Linked DNA regions of Homo sapiens: regions 2, 3, 4 and 5 are each linked to region 1. Evidence: promoter capture Hi-C in human tissues and cell types (Jung and others, 2019). All regions are on one chromosome and are shown on one strand. Each heading gives the region's core, a stretch centred on a gene start or on the middle of the fragment in contact. The rest is flanking DNA. Distances are from core to core; before and after follow the strand shown. Region 1 holds the start of MYH9 (myosin heavy chain 9). Region 2 overlaps APOL3 (apolipoprotein L3). Region 3 holds the start of APOL4 (apolipoprotein L4). Region 4 overlaps APOL2 (apolipoprotein L2). Region 5 has its middle 4.2 kb from the start of APOL1.

The links. The method cuts DNA at HindIII sites, captures the fragments that hold promoters and counts their contacts. A contact is called where the count stands out against the background at its distance.
Region 2: a contact is called between a fragment that was not itself captured here and the fragment with the promoter of MYH9 in region 1, in 2 of the 25 tissues and cell types used here (dorsolateral prefrontal cortex and mesendoderm cells).
Region 3: a contact is called between the fragment with the promoter of APOL4 here and the fragment with the promoter of MYH9 in region 1, in 2 of the 25 tissues and cell types used here (adrenal gland and mesenchymal stem cells).
Region 4: a contact is called between a fragment that was not itself captured here and the fragment with the promoter of MYH9 in region 1, in 1 of the 25 tissues and cell types used here (dorsolateral prefrontal cortex).
Region 5: a fragment that was not itself captured here is called in contact with the fragment with the promoter of MYH9 in region 1 in 5 of the 25 tissues and cell types used here (dorsolateral prefrontal cortex, heart left ventricle, liver and 2 more).

The regions. Positions count from the first base shown.
Region 1 is chr22:36,385,360-36,391,093 of GRCh38, forward strand. MYH9 (myosin heavy chain 9) reads right to left here and starts at 2,608. Exons shown (of 41, transcript NM_002473.6): 1 at 2,448-2,608. MYH9-DT (MYH9 divergent transcript) reads left to right here and starts at 3,235. Exons shown (of 3, transcript NR_183573.1): 1 at 3,235-3,376. RefSeq lists enhancers at 1-480, 252-441, 481-1,194, 952-1,001, 2,625-2,919 and silencers at 1,632-1,861, 2,142-2,221, 2,252-2,831. The HindIII fragment of the contact is 20,760 bases long and covers 1-5,734 here.
Region 2 is chr22:36,140,494-36,146,227 of GRCh38, forward strand. APOL3 (apolipoprotein L3) reads right to left here. Exons shown (of 4, transcript NM_145639.2): 3 at 4,980-5,106; 4 at 1-1,565. The coding sequence ends at 707. Among named protein-coding and RNA genes, the nearest start is that of APOL3, 17 kb to the right of the region's middle. RefSeq lists enhancers at 460-961, 962-1,461. The HindIII fragment of the contact is 7,006 bases long and covers 144-5,734 here.
Region 3 is chr22:36,199,221-36,204,954 of GRCh38, forward strand. It overlaps APOL4 (apolipoprotein L4), which reads right to left and starts at 2,589. Exons shown (of 4, transcript NM_001386885.1): 1 at 2,480-2,589; 2 at 110-156. The coding sequence starts at 2,514. RefSeq lists an enhancer at 2,565-3,064. The HindIII fragment of the contact is 28,208 bases long and covers 1-5,734 here.
Region 4 is chr22:36,224,836-36,230,569 of GRCh38, forward strand. It overlaps APOL2 (apolipoprotein L2), which reads right to left. Exons shown (of 5, transcript NM_030882.4): 5 at 1,374-3,445. The coding sequence ends at 2,569. Among named protein-coding and RNA genes, the nearest start is that of APOL2, 12 kb to the right of the region's middle. RefSeq lists an enhancer at 2,328-3,006. The HindIII fragment of the contact is 3,547 bases long and covers 1,216-4,762 here.
Region 5 is chr22:36,246,097-36,251,830 of GRCh38, forward strand. No RefSeq gene overlaps it. Among named protein-coding and RNA genes, the nearest start is that of APOL1, 4.2 kb to the right of the region's middle. The HindIII fragment of the contact is 5,646 bases long and covers 1-5,269 here.

The DNA.
Region 1 (5,734 bases), core at 1,358-3,857:
GCCAGCCTGGTTTCTAGCAATACCCTACCAGGCTACACAACAATGCTGCATTTTTTTAGTGTGTTTTTCTTCTTTTAAAGAGCTAACAGATCCTTGTTTTGTTTTTTCTGGAGCAAGAGCGGGCAAAAGGCAGGCTGTGATTAACATGCGTCCTTCATCCTACGAGAGAGAAGTTGTCCCATCTCCAACCCCTTAGGTTAAAAAGTTTAAAAATAAAAGCAAGAAAGCCAGGGCCCTCCCTCTCCTCTACCCTCCTGAACCTTTCAGATGAACAGCCTCACCGAATGCTGCCCTTCTCTCCGGGGCTGGGGAGCTCCCCAGAGCCTGCCAATGCCGGCTCTCCAGACACCTGGCTCTGCCCACCTGCGCTGCCAGGGTTTGCTGAGTGTGGAGACTGAAGTTCTTTGGTGTCACCCCACAGTCATCCAGAGCGCAGTGGCTCTCAAATTACACTGAGCAATCTCTCCATGTTTTTAATTACCCCCCAATTATCCACTAAGTGGCTCCTCACTTTCCAACACCGCATGCTTGCCTCAGTTTGCCAAACCTGCAATGTGCTTCTCCCTTGTAGCAGCCTCCTCCTTGCCCAAGAGAAGTGGCCCCTCTCAGCCTTGAAATTCCTGAGTCCTTTGTCTATGGCATACTTGGGACACACATCACAGGCTGCCTTTGTATTTCACTGGTTCTGCCACTTTCCCCTTGAGGACTGTAAACTCCCCAAGGGCAGAGGCAGGGCCCCGGGGATTTCACAGGGCAGTCTGGCTCCCTTCTCCCAATCCCCATGACTCACAGTACCTTTCCGGGGTCCCTGTCATCTCTACCTCACGTTAGACTCATCTACAGATTTGTCTCAGTTCTCCCCTAAGTGCCCATGGGCACGGGCCAGGTCTTACTCAACCTCCCACCCCCCCACCACCTGGCAGAGTCCCTGGCACAGAGAGGGCAGTTAAATATTTGCTCAATTACACATCTGTGTCCCCTTCCCCCACACATAGCAGCCTTGTATATAAACTGACTATTATTAATTGAGTGATTGTCTCAAAAGGCCTCCCTCCTTACCAAAAAGGGACTCCTAAGCCATCAGGTGAGCCAAACACTGGCCCAGACAGTGTAGTTAGAATGGCCACAGTGCTGCGCTGCACGGAGAAGGAGCTAAGGCTCTCTTCCCTTTCCACGGTTACTCATCAGTCACTTTGAAATCCTGTTAAACCCAGAAAAGGGCGCAGTGAACCGAGAAGTGGCTGGGCCTCTCAACTGCCCGGTGGAGACAGCCGCCTGCCTCTACGACCTGGGACTTCCCAAGGAGTCTTCTCTCCACACCGGCTGGGTGGGGCCGTGCGCTCACCCTGCCCCCCACCACAGGACAGCCGGCAAGCTAGTGCTGGGGGTGCTGAGTCTCAGTTTGAAACAGCGGGGCTTCCCTGGAGAATGAGGGTGCCGCAGTCCTGTCTCCTGTGCGTGGCCCCAGAACAGGATGGGGTGAGGACCCCAGCACAGGGAAGCGGGTGCGTGGAGTGGAGAATAGAAAACTCCGATTTGGCTCAAACAGGAAAGATGCAATCGCCCAGGCCTGCTCGTAACGGCAGAGCTAGCTGCCCCCGCACCCCGCCCAGACGGGATGGCCCCTGGGTGCGGTGGAATCAGGTGCACGCCTGGGCGGCCCCGACGGCTGCTGCATTCCGGGCCTCCCTCCCCCGAGGATCAGAAGTCGGAGGTCGAGGGCTGGAGCAGGGACTGGGGGTGGCCCTTCCTGTCTCGCGCCCGGGTCCCCGCCGGGTCCCCCTTGTCCGGGCAGCCGCCGCACCTCCCCCGGGCCCTCCCCGACCAGTCCGACGGCAGCGGGCGAATGAGGAAGTCGGCCGCGGAGGCGGAAACCGGGCCGGGTGCAAGGTCTGCAGCGGGACGGTCCGACTCTGACTCAGGAGGACGCCCTGACAGCTGCCAAACGGTGCCCGCTGCCCGTTACCTCCGTGCCTCAGACGCCAGAAACTTCCACGGGAGCGGCTGCCCCGGGCTCCCAACCCGTGAGGCTGCGTCCCAGGGGCCGCGGCTCCCGGAAGGGGTTAAAAAGTTTGCCCGAGTCGGGCCTGGGCGAGGCGAGGGCGGGGCGCGTGCCCCAGCGGCTGGGGGAGGTCGGCTCCAGTGCCCAGTCCTGAGACCGCGCCGGGGGACACGGGGGGCGCCGGGGAGCGCCGGGTCCCGAGGCCGCCCCTGCACCCCTAGGCCTCGCTGCTGCCGGCGCCCTCCCCGAGCGCCCGCGTGGGGGTCCCGGTCCCCCTGGGAAGGATGCGGTGCCGGGCCCTGAGCCGCCGGCGTTCGCCCCCGCCCGCGCGGGTGGCGGGCCGCACTGAGCCCAAGAACCACCAGTCGGCCTGGCGGCAGCGCGTCTCGCCCCCGCCCGCCCGCCGCCGCCTGCCCGGGGCGGGACCGCGGTGGGGCTCGCTCACCTGAACCTGGATCTGCCCCGGGAACAGGCGCTGCTTCTCCCGAGAGGACTTTCTCGAGCGCTCGGGCGGCGGCCGGGTGGGGCGAGCGCACGAGGCGGGAGCTGCAGCAGGTCAGCCTTGCTTAGCCTTCCGTGCCCTGCCCAGGAACCGCGGTGATCTGCGCGCCTCACCGCACCCAGCTCGGCTCCTCGCCGCCTTCCCGCCCCGCCCTCGGAGCCGCGGGACCATTCCCAGCCGGGAGCCGGCTCCGGGGCGGAGCCTGGGGCACAATCCCGCCCCCTTCCTGCTACACCCACTGCAGGCCGCGCCTGGCCTTGATGGGCAGACGTATTGGCCTGTGGAAAGGGGGTGGGCGGAGCCTCTGCGGCCAGATGGGTGGGGATTCAACATCCTCTTTCCGCCCCACCTCCACCCGCTCCACCTTCCCCCGCGCTTCCTAGGCGGGAGCCCCGCCCTCTAGGGCGGGTCCAACGGACAGCCAGGTTCTAGGACAAGGATTGACACAGGGGGAATCCAATCAGGAGGCGGCGACTCGGGGCGCGGAGAGCTCCGGGCCGGGGTTTTGGTGCCTTGCCTGGGCCGGGGCGAGGCCCTGCGGGAGCCGACTGGGAAGGTCTGGAACTCTGACACCCCGCCCCGCGAGCTGTGCTCTCAGTCTCATGTCATCCCACCACAAGGACAGATATTAAGTACCATATATGGGAAAAATGCTATTTTACATAATTATGATCCCTGTGGGGGCGGGCATGGACTCAGCCCTGGATTCCATTGTGAGCGTCTTGAGTTCGATTCCTGACCCTGCCTCTTTAGGATCCGCACGTTGCTGCCTTTCAGCCTCCAAACCTTCGCTCTGGCCGTTCTCTCCACCTGGAATACCCTTCCGAGCCTCTCTTCACCTCCATGTCATTAACTCGCATACATCCTTTCAGGTACTTGTTACAAATTGCACTTTTTTTTTGTTACTGTCCACTACAAGAGGATAAAAAATGTTTTCATTTTTAAATGAAAAATCTTTTGATCCATTTGGAATTTATTTTTGGGGTAAGGAAGAAACCTAAGATAATTTTTGTAATAGCCACTTGTCCAAACACTGTTTTCTCCACTGATTTTAGTTGGCACCTTCATCGCCTATAGAACTATTATACTTGAAGCTGTTTCTGACTTGTATACATTGATCTCTCTGTGTGCACCTGTGCCAATCCCACCATGCTTTAATGAAGATACCTTTATAATACATTCTATATCTATGAGGGCAAATTTCTCATCATTACTCTTTCTTACTGGAATGTGCTTGCTATCATGACTATTCTTCCAAATTAACTTCAGAAAAAAGCTATGTTCTAAAGGCAAAAGAAAGCTGGGAAAAAAAGATTTTGCAACTCTGTGACAAATTACTATCAGCAATATATAAAGATCTCTTCCCAGTTGATAAGAAAAACCTCGGCCGGGCGCGTGGCTCATGCCTGTAATCCCAACATTTTGGGAGGCCGAGGCGGGCGGATCACCTGAGGTTGGGAGTTCAAGGGCAGCCTGACCAACGTGGAGAAACCCCGTCTCTACTAAAAATACAAAATAATTAGCCGGGCATGGTGGCCCATGCTTGTAATCCCAGTTACTCAGGAGGCTGAGGCAGGAGAATCGCTTGAACCCGGGAGGCGGAGGTTGCAGTGAGCAGAGATCGTACCACTGCACTCTAGCCTGGGCAACAAGAGCATAACTCCGCCTCAAAAAAAAAAAAAACAAAGAAAAAGAAAAAGAAAAACCTCAAAGACTCCAAAATAAAAATGGCCAAAAACAGGAACAGGTGATTTTAAAGAAGAATTATAAATGGCCAATAATTATTTTTAAAAAGCCATAAGAAATGCAAACAAAACAACATAAAATGCCATTTTCACCTAATTAAAAAAAAAATGCTCAATATTGGTCAGGTTTATAGATACAGATGAGAAAGTAAATTGATCAATTCTATCTGAGAATTCATCTTAAAAGACATTAGAAAAGTACACAGATATGAACTTTAAAGTTCTTTGCAGCCGGGCGCGGTGGCTCACGCCTGTAATCCCAGCACTTTGGGAGGCCGAGGCGGGCGGATCACGAGGTCAGGAGATCGAGACCATCCCGGCTAAAACGGTGAAACCCCGTCTCTACTAAAACTACAAAAAATAGCCGGGCGTAGTGGCGGGCGCCTGTAGTCCCAGCTACTTGGGAGGCTGAGGCAGGAGAATGGCGTGAACCCGAGAGGCGGAGCTTACAGTGAGCCGAGATCCCGCCACTGCACTCCAGCCTGGGCGACAGAGCGAGACTCCGTCTCAAAAAAAAAAAAAAAAAAAAAAAAAAAAAAGTTCTTTGCAACATTGTTTATAGTCACTAAATGTTAGAAATAAATGTACAATATATTACAAGATTGAATACATTGTGATATAGTCATATGTCGAAAAGTACAAAAAAAGTCATTAAAATTTTTATGTAGATTTGTATTTGCTGATTGAAAATATACTAAGTGGCCAGACGCAGTGGCTCATGCCTGTAGTCCCAGCACTTTGGGAGGTAAGGTGGGAGGATTGCTTGAGCCCAGGAGTTCAAGACCATCCTGGGTAACATCGCAAAATCCCATCTCTACAAAAAATACAAAAACTAGACTGCCATGGTGGCGCACATCTGTATTCCCAGCTACCCAGGAGGCTTAGCTGGGAGGATTGCTTGAGCCTGGGAGGTTGAGACTACAGTGAGCCTTGATCGTGCCACTGCACTCCAGCCTGGGCAACAGAGTAAGACCTTGCCTCAAAAAAGAAAAGAAAAAGAAAATCTACTAAGTGAGGAAGAGCAAATTTATAGAATGCTGTTACAACATGATTTTGTCCTGGTGTGGTCGCTCACGCCTATAATATACATACACACTTAGTTGGGCATGGTAGTACTTGCCTGCAGTCCTAGCTACTCAGGAGGCTGAGGTGGGAGGATTGCTTGAGCCCAGGAGTTTGAGGCTGCAATGAGCTGTGAGCATGCCACTGCACTCCAGCCTGGTCAACAAAGCAAGACCCTGTTTCTGGAAAAAATAAAAATAAAAAAGAAGAAGAAAGAAAAAATACAAAAATTGAAAGACTCATTTCATTCTAGGTATGGTGGCTCACACCTGTTATCCCAGCACTTTGGGAGGCTGAGACGGGTGGATCACCTGAGGTCAGGAGTTCGAGACCAGCCTGGCCAACATGGCGAAACCCCATCTCTACTAAAAATACAAAAGTTAGCTGGACGTGGTGGCATGCACCAGTTATCCCAGCTACTCA
Region 2 (5,734 bases), core at 2,397-4,896, 240 kb before region 1:
ACTCTCCAGGATGTTTGGGTTTTTAGAGACACCTGGTCCTCAGCTGGGGACAATGGCCATGGCTCATTACCTGGCCTTCAGGGTTCAAGCAGGGGACATATACCCCTAAATAACCTAAAGGGGATCCATCACACTACAACCACCACCTCCACCGCCATCATCAAGAAGCCACTGGCTGACTGAGATACACTTCCAGGAGGACAAGACAGAGTGGATGCTGGAAAGACAGGGCAGGGGACCATCACCAGGGAAAGACTTCATTCTTGGAAGGACATCGAACCGGGGGCAGGTCGGTAGTGGAGCCGCTGTTTCTTCTGCTGTATCCAAAAGTTCTAACTCTTCGGCTTTCTGCATTTTCAGCTCTTTCTTTTCCTGGCCTTCTCATTGCTGGTTCCTGCACACCTCCCCTCTATTCCTCCCCCCAATATATTCGTTAGTCTAAAGGAAATTTCTTCTTCCTATTCCCCACACTCTCCAGTCCCCTCTCCTCCCTTATTCCAGGCTCCAGCATTCCTGCCTTCTCCTTGGTGCACTTGCCATCTGCATTAACCCCTCCCCTGCTGTGCTCAGCTACAGAAATGCCAAAGTCACTAACACTCAGCTCCATAAACTTTACCTTGCCCTCTTTATCCCCCTAATAAAATGCCTGCATTTTGTCGTGGCCTGTGTATGGCTCACCTCCCCTGCTGGCTGCACTGGTCTGGGGTCAGTGGGTATGGCATGGATTCAGACGCTGATAGATCTGAGTGAGCTCCATTAGATTCTCCTCCAGCTCCTGAGCCTGCCGCCTCAGCTCCTCAGCAGATGCAGACTTTGCCCCCTCATGCAAGTGCTTTGACTCGTATACAAGGTTGACCACATCCAGTGCAAGGAAGATGCCTGAAGTGGTCGCACTCAGGATCCGGGCTCCTCTGCTCACTGCCCGGGTGGTGCCTGCAATCGTTCTCTCTGCTTGACCACCACTTCCAGCTGAGATTCGCCAGGTGGTCACAGGGAGTCGGGCCCTGGCTCTGGCTTGCCTGATGGCACGGATTTCACTCCCAATGGTTTGTGTGGCTTCGTAATAATTATTAAGAAGGGAAAGTAAGTTGGGTGTGATGTCACGCATAACTTCCTTAAATACCTTCAATCGGTCAATGCTGGTTGCAGTCAGCCTGCTGGCTTCAGCTTCTGCTGATGATGTGTATGAGTGCTCCACGATGCTGGTGGTGATCCCAGTCACAGCAGACGCTGCTCCCAGCCCTACCCCAGCTGCAGTAAGGGCCAGACTCGTCCCTGCTGTAAATGGTGCCAAAACAAGACCAGCAAGGGACATGATGCCAGAGGCAGCGCCAGTGGAGCTGGACACCACATTGGAGATGGTGCAGCCTCTGTGGACCTCTTCAATACCATTTGCAAGGGCACGAAGCTTTTCTATGGACTCCTGGATCTTCCTCTTGACTTGGGGAAACTCTTTCAAAAACCATTCCCTAAACTGCTCATCTTTCTGCTGCACATATTCGTCCTCAATAGCTGCATATGTTCTAAGCTTCTTCAGAGCTTCGTAGAGAGCATCTGCCTCATCCCTGTACCAATAAAGGACAGATGATTAAGAAAGGCAGCTTACTTATCTGTAAAATCAGCTCAATAAGATCTGTTCTACATAAATCACAGAGCTATTACTATGAGTCAAATGGAAATAAAGCTTTAAATTTTAAATGGAAAAATTTAAAATAATTTTTCCAAGGTTAAACATGTTTTGTATATCATAGATATGCCACAGTACTTATTCTGTATGGGAATAAAAAACTTAAAGTCATCTTCAGATGCTCTTTAGTGGTAGGTATTCGATAAAGATGGCTCCTCAAGCAAGAGAGGTCAACATCATCCCTCCAATAGTGTGTGGAGAGGGGAAATTTTGTAGATGAACAAAGAGAAGTGGGTTCGGAGCAAAAAGACCTTCATTCAGAGGATCATAGAACAGTGAAGGATTAACTTTATTAGAAGAGAGGTCGTTCTTTTGTCTTTGGGCCCTGGGAAGGGATCTCTGGGGCCCTGGAATGTCCTGCCTGGTAGGAACATCTTTGTTTCCCTGGTGGTTTGGCTACAGCACAGTATAGCAATGTTATGGGTGATGGGTTTTGGGGCTATTACGTATCTTTTCTGCCTTCCAAAGGAACTGGGAACTAAGGGTGTTAGACCTCAGGGAGGGGCTGGGGACTCCATGTCAGCCATCAGGACAGCTTGTGATCCAGCCCCAGAAAGAGCTCTGTACATTGAGGCATAGGTTGAGAAAGACTTTCTCCTTGGCCAAACTCCAGTCAGGCTGCTCTGAGCCTTTTCTCCTCTAGGCGCTGACCTTCCATGCCCATCCCGTGCTTGCTGGGCCTGTACTGCCCCAGTTCAGCAAGAATCCCCCAAGGCAGTTAGGGAGGGTCCTCCCCACTTGCTGTCTGAGCATTCTTGCTGTCTGATCACGGTCTTCACCCGCTCCTTACCTGCCTTTAGTTGAGCAGCTTGTTAGGCCAGTTTAGCAGAAACCCCCCATTCTGGTGTCTCCAGTCAGAACTGGTCCATCTCCCACTCCTCACCCTGGTGTTGGCTGTGACTCCCCCTCTGTCTTTACTATATTGGGAGCTGGGCTCAGTCTCCCTCCCCTGTAACACAATCCTGAATAAAGGCTTCCTGATCTAATGTGATTCACAGGAATTTTTCCTTAACTGGGTGAGCTTCTCTGGTTGGCAACACCCCATGTGTTTTGTCCCACATTCACACAGGAGAACACAGCGTCCTGAGGACAACGAAGCTTCACACCTGAAACCCTCCCAGACTCTGCCCTGTGTGTCTCTTCCTTAGGCTGATTTTAATCTGTGTTCTTTCCCTGTGATAAACCACAATCGTGCAATAACAGTTATCAGTGAGTTACGTAAGTCTTTGTAGTGAATTATCAAACCTGAGTGGGGGCTTAAGAAACACCTTCAAATCTGCAACTGGTGTCAGAAGGAAGGGTGCCTTCAGACATTGCATTTTGACTAACTCTGAGTCCTTAAGCTATCAAATAAAACCTCAGACTGGAAGAGATCACCTTGCCTGGCATGTTCTCTCTTCCAATGCCACATGCCCTTTGATCTTCTGACTGAAGGCCACTGGGTCCAGCCACTGCCCCCTTTGACTGAAAAGTGAAAGGCCTGGCTATTAGTCCTGGCTGCACATGAACTCTCAAGCCACTTGACGGCCTCCTGACCTGGCACCTCCAAGCTTCAGGGTCTCACTGTCACATGTCACCAGCCAAACTAATGCCTTAGCAGGTGACAGCTTCACCTGTGTGCATGCCAATGCCATGTGCAATTTCATGGAACCTCTTATGGACTCATGAGACTTTGAAAATCATCTCTATAAATCACTAATGCTGAAAAGACCTGCATTTGGACAAGATGATAGAGAAAGTGTTTTTCTCTTTGGTTGGGGACTTGTGAGTCTCCTGAGAACCCTTCAAATTACCCAGTTGGCAGACACTTGTTCCAACTCTCCAAGCTGGCCCGAAGAAACACTTCCTCTACTCTATGTAGAACAGAAGAGGGTCCCAAATGGCAGTTCAGAATGCCCCAGTTCCCAGGCATGCTGTCAGGGAAACAGTCACCCATGGCCCACTATGCCCATCAGTGATGGGATCAAATCAGGGAGGGAAGAAATATCCCTCTCCCACTCACTGGTCCTCTGCAAGTCCATGGCCACGTTACCTTTCATGCCCTCAGTGCCTCCCTCTTCTCACCCTACTCCCAGCCTTGGTGCCCGAGCCTTCCTGCTGCTCCTCCAACCCAGGCCCACCCCTGCCCCATCCTGACCCCTGGCTCTGCCCCTGAAACGTCTCTCTGGGTCTTTGGATGGCATCATGCTACTTGGTTCCCCACCTCTGACCTGCTGTTCATTCTCAGGCTTTAACCACACGCCCATCTGATTGAACTACTATTAGCATTGGAGAGATGGCAGGTCCCAGTCTCCAAGACATAAAACAACAGCCCCAGAGCTGTGCAGGGACAGAGCCAAGATCCACCCCCAGCTCTGTCCAACTCCATTCCAGCCTCTCTGTGTTCTGTGTCAGCAGGAGGATCCTGCTGTGTTTGTGCAGTTCCTCAGAGGTGGAAGAAAAGGGCCCCGGACAGCATCTCCAGGAACACACATTGATCAGGTCAAGATTTTTCTGGCTTTTTTCAAAGAAAGTCCTGCTGGGCATCCAACTCTAAGAAAAACACTTGGTCGGGCGCAGCGGCTCATGCCTGTAATCCCAGCACCTTGGGAGGCCGAGGCGGGAGGATCACGAGGTCAGGAGATCAAGACCATCCTGGCTAACACGATGAAACCCCGTCTGTACTAAAAATACAAAAAAAAATAGCCGGATGCGGTGGCCGGAGCCTGTAGTCCCAGCTACTTGGGAGGCTGGGGCAGGAGAATGGCGTGAAACCGGGAGGCGGAGGTTGCGGTGGGCCGAGATCATGCCACTGCACTCCAGCCTGGGGGACAAGCAAGACTCTGTCTCAAAAAAAAAAAAAAAAGAAAAAAAAAGAAAAAAAAAGAAAAACACTTTTGGTCCTGGTCTCTCCCCAGCAATCTTTTTAAAAGGTAACATTAACGGAGCACCTACCATGTGTCAGTCATTATGCTAAATACTTTACATGCATTAGCTTATTTTTCTCACAATAAAGCTCAATGGATGAAGAAAGGAAGGCAGAAAGTAGTCAAGTAGCTTGCAAAGCTCCCATCACCAGTAGATGGCAGAACTGACCCTGCCCTTGTGGGCTTCCTCTCCCCTCAGCCTGAGGTCACTCACTGCCAGCGAAGGACTTGGAGGAAATATTCCTCCTGGACTGCTGAGAGGGACATTCTCAAGTTCAGCAGAGGGGGCTGCCTGGAGGAGGTGTGCCTGCCAGAGAAAACTAGCCCAGGGGAGATCAGGATGGCATAGCCGGGGCGCCCCATGGAGGTAACCCCACGGAGGTTACCTGGGCAATTCAGCCGCAGTCACGAATCTCTTCCAGGCTTCATTGTTAGTCAGCAGGATTTGCAGATGCACTGGGCTGACTCTCTCCCGGAAGTATTTGGTGGCCTCTTCAGTAAAGCGTTTCTTTTCTACTTGGAAACAAAAAGCATAAGATTGGAAGAAAGTGTGCTACAGCCTAAATGGCATTGAGAATAAGGTGGTTCGAGGTTAATCCTCCTCAACCAGCTGTCACATGGGGTATTTTTGATGGAGGCATCAGTGCTATAGACTGAGTTGTGTGCCCTCCAAATTCATATACTGAGACCCTAAACCCCAGTAACTATATTTGGAGATTGAGCCTTTAAGGAAGTCATTAATTTAAAGAGAGTCGTAAGGGTAGGGCCCTAATCCTACAGGACTGGTGTCTAGTTAAAAGAAAAAAAAGAGGCAGAAGATCTCTCTCTCTCTCCTCACCCCACCCCGCCCTCGCTGTCTCTCTTGCCTTCCAGCCCTCTCTCCCTGTCTCTCTTTCTCTCTCTCTCTCTCTCTCTCACACACTCACACACACACACACACACACACATACACCCCCCACACTGGGAAGGCCATGTGAGGACACAGCCCTGAGGCAGCCTCTGTAAGCCAGGAGCAGAGCCCTCCCCAGACATCAACCCTGCTGGCACCTTCACCTTGGAATTTTTGCCTCCAGAACTGTGAGAAAATACATCAGTTGTTGGAGCCACCCAGCCTGTGGCGTTTTACTAAGGCATCCTGAGA
Region 3 (5,734 bases), core at 1,339-3,838, 190 kb before region 1:
TGGGGCTCACTCAGCCTTGAAGACACCACCCTCCATTCTAGCTGTGGGTAGGAACCAGCCAGGGAAGAGGAGGCGAGCCTACCAGCAGCCAGGTCTCTGAAAGGCTTACCTTGGAACTGTCCAGCCACTGTCCAGCCTGGATGGTTTTGCTGCACCCTTGAGGAAGAGAAAACAAATTGTGGGATTGAATGTGAGCCACCTATGGGCAAAGGGAGGCTTGAACAGCTGGGCCTCTGCAGATCCCTCTGAGGTGGCAGCAAATGCCAAGACCAACCTAACCCAGATTCTTTCTCTATCACCAAGTCCCCATCATCTGCTATTTACAGACACTCAACTCATTCCAGCTCCCTCTTCCCTCACTCTCACACCAAGGAAAAGTCCGCTTGTCCTGTTGGAGAATGAGGAGAAGATAATCAGAGGAGGGGCAGCCATCTGATCATTACAGAAACTACACAGTCTATACGCAGAAATAGAGATGGGAAGGAACGTTCTAACAATGACCGGAAACATGTGTGACAACTAATTGATGATAGCCAGTCTGTATTGAGTGTCTGTGATGTGCAGGGCTTCTTTTTTTATTTTTATTTTTATTTATTTATATTTTTTGAGACGGAGTCTCGCTCTGTCGTCCAGGTGGAGTGCAGTGGCGCGATCTCGGCTCACTGCAAGCGCCGCCTCCCAGGTTCACGCCATTCTCTTGCCTCAGCCTCTCGAGTAGCTGGGACTACAGGTGCCCGTCGCCACATTCGGCTAATTTTTTGTATTTTCAGTAGAGAAGGGGTTTCACCGTGTTAGCCAGGATGGTCTCGATCTCCTGACCTCATGATCAGCCCGTCTCGGCCTCCCAAAGTGCTGGGATTACAGGCGTGAGCGGTCGCGCCGGGCCTGTGATGTGCAGGGCTTCTGACATGTGTCTCATTCAATGATCACACACAGCCCGGGAGATGGGTACCACTTTCCCATTTGAACACAGAGGAATCCACAAAAGTTAGGGAACTTGCCAGTGTTTTCTATTGCTAGAGCCAGGACTTCTGCTTCAACCTCATGTCTTCAATGACTGTGCTCTACTCCCTTAAATATACAATATTGAGTCATGTATACACGCTCATGGTAAATGACTCCTCATTGCAAATCCATGTCTCACACTCCGTGCTCAACTTTTCGTCTTGGTGAATTCACTGGTGCTGCAGTGGACAGCCTGTGTCCCCCTTGCTTCTCTAAGATCCTTTGTCCCACAAAGACCTGGATCCTGCCAGATGCCGGCCTAGCCCCTGCTGTGGCTGCCGAGCCCTCCTGGCGCTGCCCTGTTCCCTCTGCTGTCCTCCCCTAGCTGATGGACCTTAGGGTGTTTCTAATTCTTCATGTAAATTATGCTACAAAGAACACCCTCCTTCACGTAAAACTGCCCACATTTGATTTTATTTCCTTAAGATATTTGTAGGAGTAGAATGACTAGGTCAGAGGGTATCAACATCTCAAAATGTTTTATACCTAGAGCCACACTACATGCAAATTGTACCAATTCACACTCAAACTAGCAGTATATGAAGATGCCCATTCTTTCAGTCTTACTGGCTCTCAGTAGTCTCTTTATCAGGACAAAAAATATATACACAACATGTAAATTTGAGAACTAAATATCTTGTTATCAATACCAATTAGTACAAACTTTAAGGCACGAAGGTAGCAGTTGAGATGTGAAGCACTGAACAAAGGAGAAGGAGGATTAATATTGTCATTTTTTAAAGATGGAAGTTAAGAAATACTGGGTACAACTGAGGGTATAAGAAAGTTGTAAGTAAATTGTTTACAGCTACAAAGTTGCTAATGGAAGACATAAAACTGGTGATAGAATGTTAGGAAAAGGTGGAGAGGAGAGATAGAGGGAGGGTACAAATAAGATGAAAATGACTAATAATGATACTATAAATAATAACAATACCATTTCAGGCCCATCCCAGTTAGGGGCGGCTCCAAGCATTACCATTGTTCTTTTCTCACCGTGTGTCTCTGCGCACTCCCTGGCACACCCACTTCCAGCAGCTGGTCTTTGTTTGCAGACTTTATTTTAACAGCTCAGTGGTTCCCGGGCCCCCTGATGGGGTTCCATCCTCCAGCTCTCATACTAAAGCCCCCTCCTCAAAAGCCACTCGCCTCCCTCTTTCCCTTTCCTGCCTTTGTCTCAGGGTTCAGACACACAGATGTCTGTCTTCTGGGGCCCCCATGCAACAAGGGTAAAAGGGGGACCCAGTCCTGGGCAGCATTCACCAGGGGAGTATGCAGAGGGGCGTCTGGGCGCTTCTTGCTGTAAGGGACAGGGGTGACAGGAGAGGGGCATCCCTTCGCCTTCTTCCTGCTTTGTTCACTGTGTGACCCCCTAGGCCAAGGCAACCATCTCAACACCATGAGCCAGTAGAACTGGGAGGACCAGGAGAGAGCAGAGGAGCAGGAGGGCAGAGAGCTGGGGCCTCGGACTCACCCGACGCTTGTGATGAGCTGCACCCAGGATCCCATCCTCCTTGGTCATTGTTGGCCTGGCTCAGACGCTGATCTGGGGCCTCTGCTGAATGTTGAGGCTGGATACTGACTGTTAGCCTCAACTAGGACACAGTGCGTCCCCTCTAGGCGAGTCTACCAGTTGGTCAATTCCGGGAAGTGATTTTGGTTCCTAGAAAAACCCACATGGCTCCTGGCCCAGCCCAAGCCCTGCCCAATTGTGCAGCCCAGACAGGGAGCCCTCCCTCCCACCTCAGGGCTCTGAGCCAAGCTCACCAGATGCAGACGACAAAGATTTTCAGCAAAGCAGCTCCCTCCATGTCGCTGCGGGGCCTCCTCCTTGGGCAGGAAAAGAGGGGTTGAGACAGTGTGCTCCTCCTGAGAAATCACCATTTTCATTTCATTTTTAATAAACCGTTTTGCTGTGTCACCCAGGCTGCAGGGCTTTGACGCCATCCTAGCTCATTGCTGCCTAGATCTGCTGGGCTCAAGTGATCTTCCTCCTTCAACCTTCTGAGTAGCTGGGACTACAGGTGCACGCTACCATGCTGGGCTAATTTGTTAATTTTTGATTTCATAGAGACAGCATCTCCTGTGTTTCTCAGGCTGTCTTGAACTCCTGGCCTCAAGTGATCTTCCCGCCTCTGCCTCCCACAGCACTGGGATTACAGGCTTCAGCTATAGTGCTTTCTATCTTGATGGGCATCTCTTTTTGGTGAAGAAAAATCAGGCCGGGAGCGGTGGCTCACGCCTGTAATCCCAGCACTTTGGGAGGCCGAGGCAGGCAGATCACAAGGTCAGGAGATGGAGACCATCCTGGCTAACATGGTGAAACCCCATCTCTACTAAAAATACAAAAATTAGCCGAGTGTAGTGGCGGGCGCCTGTAGTCCCAGCTACTCGGGAGGCTGAGGCAGGAGAATGGTGTGAACCCGGGAGGCGGAGCTTGCAGTGAGCAGAGATTGCGCCACTGCACTCCAGCCTGGGCAACAGAGCGAGACTCCATCTCAGAAAAAAGAAAAAAAAAAAAAGAAAAAGAAAAATAAGACCACGACTCAGATTTCACAGAAATTACCCCCCTGATTTCATGGACTTTTGGCAGCTCTATCAGGTTTCTGAGAGGGGAAAATCTTAGGCTGGGAGGGGAGGTGACTTGCCCAGAGTCGCACAGCTCTTGGAGAGCAGACGGGAAGCCAACATCTGCCCTTGTGACTCTGCTATTGAAGAAAAACGGGTGATTTTAGTAATCCAACAGTGTCCAGGTTTGATTCTGCTTCTACAAACACAGAGATCTAAGCTCTCACTCCTGTAGTTACACTCACAATTCCACAGGTGGCTTTTGAATCTCATGATTACAAAGCTGGCGTCATGCCACAGGCACCATTCTGCAATGCGACCTTCTCACTCCCCTGTCTCAGCCATGTTTCCTATTGCGGGATCTGGCCAGCAGCCCCCAGTGCAACGGGGCTCTCTCTTTGCTCCTAGGCGGATCGGCAGGTTGAGAAATAATAGACACACACAAGATAGTGAAAGCTGGGTCCAGGGGGGTCACCGCCTTCTGGTCAACAATGCACTGGATATACCAGCATTTATTATTCAGTTTAGTGAGGGCGGGGGTAGGTTAGTGAGGGATTTAGGGTCATTTGATTACGAGGTGGGATGGTCACATGGGGATGAAGTAATTCTTTAACATAACATTCGTATGTAGAAGTACAGTGCATTTGTATGTAGAAGTACAGTATACAGAGATAAGAATTTACAATATAGTGTGTGCGTCAGTAATTTCTAACAGAGCCTTAAAACAGAAACACAATCTTTCCATAACCTATGATTAGCAAGATATTAATCAGCAGTAACAATTGCAACAAAAGCTGGTTACTGACAATCCATGGAAACAGGACGTGAAGCTAGATAACCGGTTAGACTAGAAATTCTCAGAAGGGAGTATACCTGAACCCTAAAGATGCCTAGAAGAGCCACGGCAAGATGATAGCATTTATAGCCCTAGCTTGTCCATATGGACAGGCGCCCCCCTGCATCCATTCATAGGCTCTCTGCAGGGGGAAGCACATCACGTGCTGTTGGTTCGTTCTGGCAGTCCAACCTGGCATTGTCTTTACACAATCCTGCATGCAATTTTGTATTTACAATAATCAGGAGCATTTCATCTTTTATTCCGTAGCAATAGTTTCAGGGGGTCTCCCTACAGTTTCCCATTAGGGACACAGCACAGCCTGTTTCTTCTCCATCACCCCAGAGGTCTGAACAGAGGGACAGAGGTGAGGGCCACAGACATGGAGTCCTATGATCTACCTGCTCAGCCTCCTGACACTGGACCCTGGGCAAGTCACTCCCCTCCCAGGGCCTCAGTTTCCCCACAGGGCCTGGCACAAGTAGGTGCTCAGACTCAGGGTGGGTGAGATGACCTCTAGGTTCCTTGTATCTCAAAAGAAATCTCTTGCCTCATCAGGCCTCAGCAGCCGCACCCCGGGGCCAGCCTGGTTGTGGCCAGACCATAAGGACAGACCGGGCTCCAGGTCACCTCCCCACCTCCACCTTCTTTGATTCCTTCAAATTTCCCAAAGAGATGGGCACCCCCAACACAAACCTTCCTTCTGGGGTCACCTGGCCATGTCTCAGCAGTCTAAAACAGAGCTGAGCCCAGAGAGCTTTGTGAACCCATCTGAGCTATTTCCCCACCTCTCTCTACGGTTTAAGGGCCCAGCAGGAGGGAGGGAGCAATCAGACTCAAGCCTGGGTGCAAATCCCGGCTCTACCACTGCTTTCCTGTCTGATCTGAACGAGTTACCTAACCTCTCCGAGCTTATCTACAAAAGCTGAATGATCCTTCCCTCATAGAGCTATTGCGAGAATAAGGAGATGGAGGGAGGTCACACCATCCCCAACTTACCAAGGGATCTTCCTCTGACAGAGACTGAGCAAGATCCAGCTGGTCTGAGCTGTGTGGATCTCACCTCCAGCTGTGCACCTATATAATAACCAGACACGTCCTCCAGCCCCCAAGATATACCCAGGAATTCGAAAGGTAAAATGAAAGTCACAACTTCCCAGCAGCTCACAATCAAGCACAGCAAACACGCTGCTCCCCAGCACCTCCTGCAGTCCAGCCCCACCCTCCTTGCTGCTGCGCTTAGAGGAGCAGCCTGAGACCAGACCTCCAGGTCTCTTTCATCCAACCCACCTGCCTGGCATCCTCGGGGTTGGGGGTCTGCTATAG
Region 4 (5,734 bases), core at 1,739-4,238, 160 kb before region 1:
CAGGACCCCAGGCCACAACAGGCTACTTTAGGCAGCATCATGGCCTACATCTTTGTGCTAAGAGTAATGGGAAGCCATTAGAGGGTTGGAAGCAGGTGCTCAATCAAACCTATGTTCTTAGGTGGGCATGGTGGCTCATGCCTGCAATTGCAGTCCATTGGAAGGCCAGGGTGAACAGATCACCTGAGCTCAGGAGTTTGAGACCAGCCTGGGCAAGATAGGGAAACCCTGTCTCTACAAAAAAAAAAAAAAATACAAAAATTAACGAGGCATTGGGGTACACACGGATGGTCCCAATTGCTCAGGGAGTCAAGGTGGAAGGATAGTTTGAGGCCGGGAGGTCCAAGATGTGGTGAGCCATGATTGTGCCACGGTTTGCCAGCCTTGCAACAGAGTGAGAGTATCTGAAAAAAAAAAAGAAACTATATTGTTAAAGCCCAACCTGGCCCAGTGTGGAGCATGGTCCAGGACATGGGAGGGACAGGGGCAGGGGCACAGAGAAGACCATTCTGGAAGTTCTTGCAGGAGTCTGGGCAAAACGTGAGGACAGACTGGATGGGAGTGTTTGCTGTCTGGATGTCTCTCTTTGTCCCTCTATTTTTCGCTGATCCTCTCCCAATCTGCACACAGGCCCCTCTGACACTAGTTAGCCTCGAGTGTCCCGTGTCAATCCCGGGCTCTGACTCACAGATGGAAACCACACCTGTGCTCAGCCAGAGCCAGACATGTACAAGCTTTCCCCGAGTGCCCCAATGGGCTTGGGGTTTTGAGGTCTCAGGGAAATGACCAGCTGGGAAAGTGAGAGTCCAGTGAGCGAGCAGAAGGGGTCTTGAAACTTCGCTCCCTGAGACCCTGGAAGAAGGATCATGAGGAAGGTTAAGTCAGGCACCCAGAGCCCAGGGGAGCCTCCATCGGCACCACAAAGTCACAGCCATCAGTCAGTGCTGATTGACTCAAGTCTCCAGAACACAAGATGGGGAGAGCAAGGTGGACCTGAGATATCACCTTTTCCAGCCCCCTTCTACAGCTGATGAGGAAACTGAGGCTCAGAGGGGTGAAGTCTCATGACCACAAGCAGGGTTGAACTCCTGGACACACCTCAAGCTTCCTTGACCTGTTCCTGGCATCTCCTTTCATTTTTCCTTTCTTCCCAAATTAACCTCTTTCCAACACAGCACTTCAAGTTCCCCTGGAACTTCATCGGTCCATCGGTGTCCCCTGGTCTGGAAGAGCACCGACCACTTGCCAAGGCCCCCACCACTCTGCTGCCATCACAACCACCATCACCACCATTACGAGAAAAACTTGAGACTGATGGCCCCCAAAGCTTAGAAGGAGCTGAGAGACCAAAGAATGACTCGAACAAGTCCAGCTTGGTGAGTAGGTGAGTTTATTGGGACTTACACACAGGTCAATCCTGGGCAGCGACAGGACAGCTCTAGAGATCTGTGCTTCCTCCCAATGCTAAACTGCTTTCATGCTAATCTTCTGACTGTTTACTTACCGGCTAAGAGCGATGGGACTGTTTTCATTGGTTGGTTCTCAGATACTCTCTGGGAAGTTTGGGTTCTCAGGGACACCTGCTCCTCAGCTGGGGATTGTGGCCATGGCCTACCACCTGCCTCTCAGGGTTCAAGCAGGGGACATGCACCCTTTAGTAACCTGGAGGGGACCCGTCACATGACAACCACCCCAACCACCATCATGAAGAAGCCACTGGCTGACTGTGATACACCCCCAGAAGGACAAGGGAGAGTGGATGCTGGAAAGACAGAGCGAGAGACCATCACCAGGGAAAGACTTTATTCTTGGAAGGACATCAAACCTGGGGGGGGGTCGGTAGTGGAGCTGCTGTTTCTTCTCCTGTATCCAACAGTTCTAACTCTGGTTTTCTCCATTTTCAGCTCTTTCTTTTCCTGGCCTTCTCATTGCTGGTTCCTGCAAGCTCCCCCTCTATTCTTCGCCCAATATATTCTTTAGTCCAAAGTAAACTACTTCTTCCCATTCCCCACACTCTCCAGTCCTCTCTCCTCCCTTATTGCAGGCTCCAGTGTTCCTGCCTTCTCCTTGGTGCACTTGCCATCTGCATTAACCCCTCCCTTGCTGTGCTCAGCTACACAAATGCCAAAGTCACTAACACTCAGTTCCATAAGCTTTACCTTGCCCTCCTTATCCCCCTAATAAAATGTCTGCATTTTGGCCAGGCGCGGTGGCTCACGCCTGTAATCCCAGCACTTTGGGAGGCCGAGGTGGGCAGATCACGAGGTCAGGAGATGGAGACCATCGTGGCTAACACAGTGAAACCCCGTCTCCAGTGAAAATACAAAAAAATTAGCCGGGCGTGGTGGCAGGTGCCTGTAGTCCCAGCTACTCGGGAGACTGAGGCCGGAGAATGGTGTGAACCCGGGAGGCGGAGTTTGCAGTGAGCCGAGATTGAGCCACTGCACTCCATCCTGGGCGATAGAGCGAGACTCCATCTCAAAAAAAAAAAAAAAAAAAAAAAAAAGTCTGCATTTTGTCCTGGCCTGTGCCCGGCATTTCTGCCCTGGTGGCTGCACTGCTCTGGGGTCATTGGTCTTGGCCTGGCTGCAGCATCTCATGGATCTTGGTGAGAAAGTTGAGCTTCCCCTCCAGCTCCTGAGCCCGCTTCTTCAGCTCCTCAGCTGACTCTGACTTTGCCCCCTCAAGCAAGTGCTTTGACTCATATGCAAGGCTGACCACATCCAGCAGAAGCAAGATGCCTCCAGTGGCTGCACCCACGATCATGGTTCCTCTGCTCATTGCCTGGGCGGGGCCTTCAACAACCCTCTCAACCTGTTCACCGCCTTCAGCTGAGATTCGCCCAATGACATGCGGGGGTGGGGCATACGCTCCTAACTGAGGGTTGGCTCTGGCTCGTCTGATGGCACGGATGTTCCTCCCAATCCCTTGTGTGACTTGGTACCAATTGTCAACTAAGGTAAGAACATTGGGTGTGTTCCCACCCACAAACTCCTTCATCACCTTTGCTACATTGGTGCCGCTTTGGTCCAAGTTGCGGGCTTGGGCTCGTGCCCGCAATTTGTTTACTAGTTCTACCACACTGCAGGTAATCCCAGCCACAGCAGCTGCTGCTCCCAGACCCATGCCAGTGTCCAAGAGCACAAAACTGATTCCTTCTGTGAAGGGTGCCAGACCCAGGCCGAGGAGGGTCAGGATGCCAGAGGTAGTGCCAACAGAGTTGGACACCACATTGGCAATGGTGGTGCCTCTGTGGACCTGCTCAACCTCCTCTGCAAGGGCACGGAGCTTCCTTATGTGATCCTCAAGCTCCCTTTTCAACCGAGGAAACTCTTTCAAAAACCACTGCCTGTGCTGCTGGTCTTTATCGTGGCGGTTTTTGTCCTTCATGACCATGTGACTTGCAAGCTTGTTCAGAGCTTTACGGAGCTCATCTGCCTCATCCCTGCACAAGGAAAGGTTAAAGGATTAAGAAATGCAGTTTCCCTATCTGTGAAATGAGCTCCATGCGATCTCTATCCTGTGTAAATTGCAGAGCTTTCACTATCAATCAAATAGAAACAAATTTTACAAATGGAATTAATTATCTTTCAAACTCAAACACATTTTGTTCATCATAGATATTCCTCAGTACTTATTCCATATGGAAATAAATATCTTAAAGGCACCTCAGATGCTCTTTCATGGTAGGTGTTTGATAAAGATGCCTCCTCACTCAAGGGCAGGTCAACACCGTGACTGCCAAAGTGTTTGGAGAGGGAAAACTCTGCAGATGAACAAAGAGCAGTGAGAGTGAGACAAAGAGACCTTATTACCAGGATGGCAGGAAAGTGAAGCATGAACTTTACCCAAAGAGAGGCCTTCCCTTTGTCCTCAGCTCCTGGGAAGTGATCTCCAGGCCCCTGGAATGTCCTGCCTGGTAGGAACATCTTTCTTTGCCTGGTGATTTGGCCACGGGACAGTATAGCGATGTGATGGATGATAGGGTTTGGGGCTATTTGGTGTCTTTCCTGACTTCCAGAGGACTTGGGGACTAAAGGTGTGAGATCTCAGGGAAGGGCTGGAGACTCTAGCCATGAGGGCAGCTTGTGATCCAGCCCCAGCAGATACTCTGGACACTAAGGCATGGGTTGAGAAAGAAGGACTTTCTCCTTGACCAACTCCAGCTGGGCTCTTCAGAGCTTCTTCTCCACTAGGCGCCGACCTTGGCCTTCCACACTCACCCACTGCTTTCTGGACTTGCACCACCTTGGCTCAGCAAGAATCTCCCCAAATCAGTTTAGGGAGGGTCCTCCCCGCTTGCTGTCTGAGCACCGTTTGTTATCTGATCATGCTCCTCACCCCCACCACTGGTGGTTGAGGGTCTGACCTGCCTTTGGCGAGAATCCTGTTAGGCCAGTTTAGCAGGAACCCCCCACTCTGGCGTCTCCTGTCAGTCCTGTTCCATCTCCCGCCCCCACCCTGGTGTTGGCTGTGACTCCCCCTCTGTCTTTACTATATTTGGAGCTGGGCTCAGTCTCCCTCCCCTGTAACAACAATCCTGAATAAAGGCTTCATTTCTGGTTTAATGTGATTCACAGGAATTTTTCCTTAACTGGGTGAGCTTCCCTGGTTGGCAACACCGCATGTGTTTTGTCCCACATTCACACAGGAGAACACAGCCTCCTGAGGACAATGAAGATTCACACCTGAAATCCTCCCAGACTCTGCCCTGTGTGTCTCTTCCTTAGGCTGATTTTAATCTGTGTTCTTTCCCTGTGATAAACCACAATCGTGCAATAGCAGTTTTCAGTGAGTTACGTGAGTCCTTCTAGTGAATTATAAAATCTAAGGATGATTTTAGGAATCCCCATAGATTTGCAGGTGGTGTCAAAGGTAAGGGTGCCCTCAGACATTGCAGTCTGGCTATCTCTGAGTACTTTGAATTCAAACAAAAACAAAACCTCAGAAAGACAGGAGATCACTTTGCCTGGCATCTGCTCCCTTCCAATGCCTCATGCCCTTTCACCTGGCTGAAGGCTACTGGGTGCGGCCACTGCCCCAGCTGACTGGAGTGGGAGATCTGGCTATTCATTCTGGCTCCACATGGACGCTCCAGCCACCTTACTGCCTCCTGACCTACCACCTGCACCCCCAACCTTCCAGGTCTCACTCGCAGGTGTCACCAGCCTAACTGATGCCTTAGCAGTGACAGCTTCACCTGTGTGCACAGCAAGGCCATGTGCAATTTTATGGAACCACTAGAAGACTCAAGACACTTTCAGAACCATCTATATAAATTGCTAATGCTGAAAAGACCTGAATTTGGTCAAGATGGTAGAGGAAGTGTTTTCCTCCTCGGTTGGGACTTTGTGAGTCTGCTCAGTACCCCTGAAATTACACAAATTGGCAGCAACTCATTCTACTTTGGAAATGGTCACTAAGGCATGCCATGGTAAGGAGCTTCTCTGTGTAGAAGAGAAGAAGGTCTGAAAGGGTAGTCCAGAACTCACCAGTTCCAAGGCATGGGGTGAGAGACACAGGCTACCATGACCCTGTATGCCCATGAGTGTTGGGATCATCCAGACAGGGAAGAAATATCCCTCTCCCACTCACATGTCCTCTGCAAGTTCATGACCTCCTTAAGTTTCAAGCCCTTGGTGCCTCTCTTTCCACACCCTAGTCCCAGCCCTGGTGCCCCAGCCTTCCTGCTTGTCCTACCAAACCAAGGCTGACTCTTACTCCATCCTGACTC
Region 5 (5,734 bases), core at 1,197-3,696, 140 kb before region 1:
TCTCCTCCTCCAGTCAACTGGTGCGGTGCTTGGAACCAGTGACCATCAGTCAGAAGGTCAAAGGGCATGAGGCATTGGAAGAGAGCAGATGCCAGGCAAAGTGATCTTGTGTAGGTCTGTTTTTGGTTTTGTTTGAATTCTGAGTACTCAGAGTTACCAAAACTGCAATGTCTGAGGGCACCCTTATCTTTGACACTAACTGCAAATTTAAGGGGATTCCTAAATCCGTCCTTAGATTTTATAATTCACTAGAGGAATTCACGTAACTCACTGAAAACTGTTATTGCATGACTGTGGTTTATCACAGGGAAAAAACACAGGTTAAAATCAGCCTAAGGAAGACACACAGGGCAGAGTCTAGGAGGGTTTCAGGTGTGAAGCTTCGTTGTCCTCAGGAGGCTGCGTTCTCCTGTGTCAATGTGGGACAAAACACATGGGGTGTTGCCAACCAGGGAAGCTCACCCAGTTAAGGAAAAATTCCTGTGAATCACATTAAATCAGGAAGAAAGCCTTTATTCAGGATTGTTGTTACAGGGGAGGGAGACTGAGCCCAGCTCCCAATACAGTAAAGACAGAGGGGGAGTCACAGCCAACACCAGAGTGAGGGGCAGCAGATGGAACAGGACTGACAGGAGGCACCAGAGTCGGGGGTTCATGCTAAACTGGCCTAACAGGATTTTCCCTAAAGGCAGGTCAGACACTCACCCATCAAGGGGCAGGTGAGGAGAGTGATCAGATAGCAAGTGTGCTCAGACAGTAAGAAGGGAGGACCCTCCCTAAACTGACTCGGGGGGATTCTTGCTGAGCCAGGGTTGTGCAGGCCCAGCAAGCACGGGATGGGCATGGAAGGCCAAGGTTGGTGCCTAGAGGAGAAGAGGCTCAGAAGAGCCCAACTGGAGTCTGGTCAAACAGAAAGTCTTTCTCAACCCATGCCTTAGTGTCCAGAGTGTTTGCTGGGGCTTGACCACAGGCTGCACTCATGGCTGACCTGGAGTTTCCAGCCCCTCCCTGAGGTCTCACACCTTTAGTCCCCAGATCCTCTGGTGGTGAGAAGAGATACCCAATAGCCCCAAACCCCCATCATCCATCACATTTGCTATACTGTCCTGTAGCCAAACCACCAGGGAAACAAAGACATTCCTACCAGGCAGGGCATTCCAGGGGCCTGGAGATCACTTCGCAGGGGTAGGGGACAATGGGAAGACCTCTCCTGGGATAAAGTTAATTCTTCACTGCGCAATTGTAGTGCAGTGAAGATTCTATTCCCAGAGGCCGGGGAAGGTTTGCAATTGCTTTGGTGCAGTGGGGCATGGGTAAACTTGCACCTTAGCTATAACAGCAGACAGAACAACCATAGTACAAATACAGGTAGTCAGTTGTGCAACTGTGTATTGGTAGACACAATGACAGCACATCACCGGCTAACCCCACAATATGGGGTGACTACCTGTACAACAATGTCACCAAGCCCTTGGGTTAAGCAATGATACATGGCTGGGTTGGTAGAATAAGTCTCTGCATATGGGTGCCTACCAATCCCCATGGAGATGGAGATGGCTGTGGGCCTGTGTCACCCACCCTTGGCCTTATTTGCCATTCAACTGGACTGGCAGATGCATCTCAGGGCATCCTTAATTGCCACAGTATATAGTTCCCCATTTAGACACGACCCCCAGTAACTGGAAAACGGTAAAAGCTAGAGATTACCAGATATGTGCATACTGGTGGTTCTACCCCTTGGCCATCTTTGCCTCCAAAGTGGCAACTGTAAATGCAGAGCTGCAATTCGTGTGCTGGCTAAACACACAGCTGCAGCCTTCAATGATACTCACCATCGTTTTACACTTCCCAATCAAGAAACCACCCAGATCAGGCATGTTCCTCTGCAAAATCGTATGACCCAAAATCATACAACTGCTGCCCATGGTGGAGCTTGTGCATTAATTAAAACAAAATGTTGTGTATATAGCCCTCATTACTCTCATAACATAACACAGGCTCTGCTGACGTTAGATACCCAGAGTCCAGCCACAGAGTCTTTGTCTTATGATCTTATCACCTCATGGTTTAATCAACTCCCAGACACGTGGAGAAACTTTGTATCTAGCGTAATTGCAATTGCGTTCATAATCCTTTGTTGAGGTTAGTGTTGCTGCTGGGGTGTCTGGCTGCAATGCTCTTCCACAAAACTGGCCCCAGGAAAATCACAGAAAAACAGTGTGATGAGATTGTGAGGGCCATTCAAGGCTATGCAGGGGTGTGGAGAGCATGGTGGGCATGTCCCGTCAGACAGCAATAACTGAAGCATCCCCTAAGAATAACCCTACATTCCTTGGTGAATTTTTGCTCAGTGTTCCAAGGTATGGATCCCGGGAATGGCCAATCCAGATGTTTACATCATACTTATGAAGAACTCTGTTCCTTGGATCAGAGGTTGTGCAAGGAATCAAGACCTTTTGTTTTGGGCTAGGTGGAGGTTTCCTGGCAGAGGTGCTAAGTGGAGGTTGCTCTGGGAAGAATATCATATAACCTGCATGCATTTGACAAACAGGAGGGGATTTCTTGTCTTGCCTGCTGCTCCTGGGCAACCTGTACATAAGCTCCCTGAATAAAGCTTATGTCTCACCTGCTGTCTCCAGGTCTTTTCTTCTGTCTCTCCAAGTCTGTGTCCTGTCAGCTCATTAGCATAGGGGTCCAGCATGACAAATATAAAACGGTGTTTAACATTCTTTGGATTATGTTTATATAAATGTGTTATTAATATGTGTTCCAAAATTGTACGAGATTCTATAGGTCTAATATGTCTTGGCATATGTTATCAGAAACTATTATTATTATTATGTTAAGTAGTTGTTTGCCACAGAAATAAAGTAATTTCCTTGTCGAATGTGTCTTTACCAATGCTGTTCTCATACTTTTGTTATCTGCAAAAAGTGTTTACTTTACATCTCAAAAAACAGTTTATGATCAGCTACAGATTGTGCCATCGGACTAAGAAAAAAATAAATCTTCCAGGACTGTAATTCAAAAGTTGATGTGGTCATGAAGATTGCTAACCCAATATCAAGTGGAAGAAGGTTATTACATGGGAATGAATTAATGGAGAACAAAAATAAATTTTTAATGACTTTTTGTTTAATATACGACTGATTCTTTTGTTTTGTTTTTCTTAGTCAAGAAAACTTCTTTTTCCCTTTGGGCTCCATGTAGCTTTTAACAATTGAATAAAGTATACTCTTGTGAGCAAAATTTGAAGCATATTTCTTTCTCACTATCTGATTTCTCCAGAATTTGGAAACTATTTGTGAGTATTCTTAGTTCATGGCAATAGAGTTATTTGCATAAGTTCAGTTGGAATCTGTTTTCTTTCATAACAGGACACAACTAGAGACACTGGTTATTTTACCAAGGCTTTGACTGGCATGGCATATTTCCACATGTACGTAGGCTGCTTTGAGTAATGGTGGCTGGCTTATAGAGCCGATGAAAGCCTCTTTGAAAAATTTTCCTCAAACTTTGCCTATACAGTTCCTTTACAGGGTTCCTGTCCTGTGGTAAGTAAAGAATGTCACTTTCTGACAGGCCCAGGAAGCCCAAGTTACCTTGGGACCTTGAGGAGAAAGGAACTCACCTAATATATATAGGCATCTGCAGGCAAATATAAATCACTGGCTGAGCTTGAGATTTTAAAAGGCCTACTCTGAGATATCTTATGAAAAAGAAAATATTGTAGCAAAGTCAATTTCCAAAAGGAGCCCATATGCCAAATAAGTATTCTTGCTGCACTTTATACAAATGATCAGGCCAAGAACCATCAGACTAAAACTTCTGTTGCAAATAAATTAGCCCTACTATGATTTGTCTTTGGTAGAAATACAGGACTAGAGAGAGAAAAGGTATGTTTCAAAAGAAACTAGAGAATGCCTGTTATTGGATTCTAGCTTTCTCCATTGTTTTCTAGCCGTATTGTTTGTCCACAGTTTATCTGGACTACATACTGAATTCTTTCCTGGCCACAAGTCTCCAAACTAATATTTTGCTTTTCTTTTTCTCTCATTTTTCTGACTTGGAATCACCAGAAATCCAAACTGTGCTTTTCTTAAAGTCCTGCAAACTGAAGCTTGAAAACTGTGTTATAGTGAAGGAAGAGAAAGACCCTCTCATATTATTTTTATATTGTTTTGTACTCAGTACCTGTTTTAAGAAAAAACAACAAGGAAGTAAAACCAAAGACAGGCAGCCCGGCGCCAGGCCCGAAACCAGGCCTGGGCCCGCCTGGCCTAAACCCATTAGTTAAAAATCAACTTATGATTCAGAAGCCGATGTTATTCATAGATTCCTTACATTATGTAGAAGAACATTGTGAAACTCCCTGCCCTGTTCTGTTCCCCCCTGACGACCTGTGTATGCAGCCCCTGTCACGTACCGCCTGCTTGCTCAAATCAATCATGACCCTTTCGTGTGAAATCTTTAGTGTTGTGAGCCCTTAAAAGGGACAGAAATTGTGCACTCAGGGAGCTCGGATTTTAAGGCAGTAGCTTGCCGATGCTCCCAGCTGAATAAAGCCCTTCCTTCTACTACTCGGTGTCTGAGAGGTTTTGTCTGCAGCTCGTCCTGCTACAATAGAATTCAGACCAAACTCGTGACCAGAGACTCATTTGCTTCTACAGTGTTTTGTCCAAAAGATGTTGAAGAACGGCCAGGCGCAGTGGCTCACGCCTGTAATCCCAGCGCTTTCGGAGGCCGAGGCAGGCAGATCACAACGCCAAGAGATCGAGACCATGCTGGCCAAGATGGTGAAACGCTGTCTGTACTAAAAATACAAAAATTAGCTGGGCTTGGTGGTGCGTGCCTGTAGTCCCAGCTACTTGGGAGGCTGAGGCAGGAGAATCACTTGAACCCGGGAGGTGGAGGTTGCAGTGAGCCGAGATCACAACACTGCACTCCAGCCTGGCAACAGAGCAAGAATCTGTCAAAAAAAAAAAAAAAAAAAAAGTTGTTGAAGAACAAGGAGAAAACGTGAAAGGAAAATCAAATCTTGGGACCCCAAAACTCACTGGAAACAGTTAAGCTTAGAAACGGAGTCACTCCAAAACCTGCCTTTGTTTTTGCTTCTAAGCAGATATTTGCGAAGACAAAAGGCAACATGTTCCCCAGGTAGCCTCCTTCACAAATTGCTCACAAGGAAACTCCTTGTGGGTCCCAGCAGTTTTTACCCTGAGGCAGACTTTGTGTAATTTCATTGTGACAATGCAAATTAGCAACTTATCTTTACTGGTACATGATAAATAACAAGACTTCTGCCCACCCTCAGAAAAATGCACATATGCCTGCTTCCTCTACTCTATGTTCATTTTTATCTTATATAAAATGTAGACGAACTGTGCATGAGACGAATGAATAATTGACTGTTCCTCTACCCCCTCCTTTCATAGACAACCTGTGGATTCAAGGAGGGCTAATCAAAGCTTCACAAGAATGTGACCACTCACCTCATTACCTATCCTGTCTTTTTTCCTTTCCTCCTTCCACTCCTGCCTGATTTTACACATTTAAATACTGGAGGCCTCAAAACCCTCTGTGAAAAACGAGTGGACCCCAGAACCTCCTGTGACTTGTGTGACTTTTTCCTGGGTGCATCCTCAACCTTGGCAGAGTAAACATCTAAACTGACTGAGACGTGTCCCAGACCCTCTTTGGTTTACAAGTCTTGCCTCCTCCCTGAGTTGCTGGA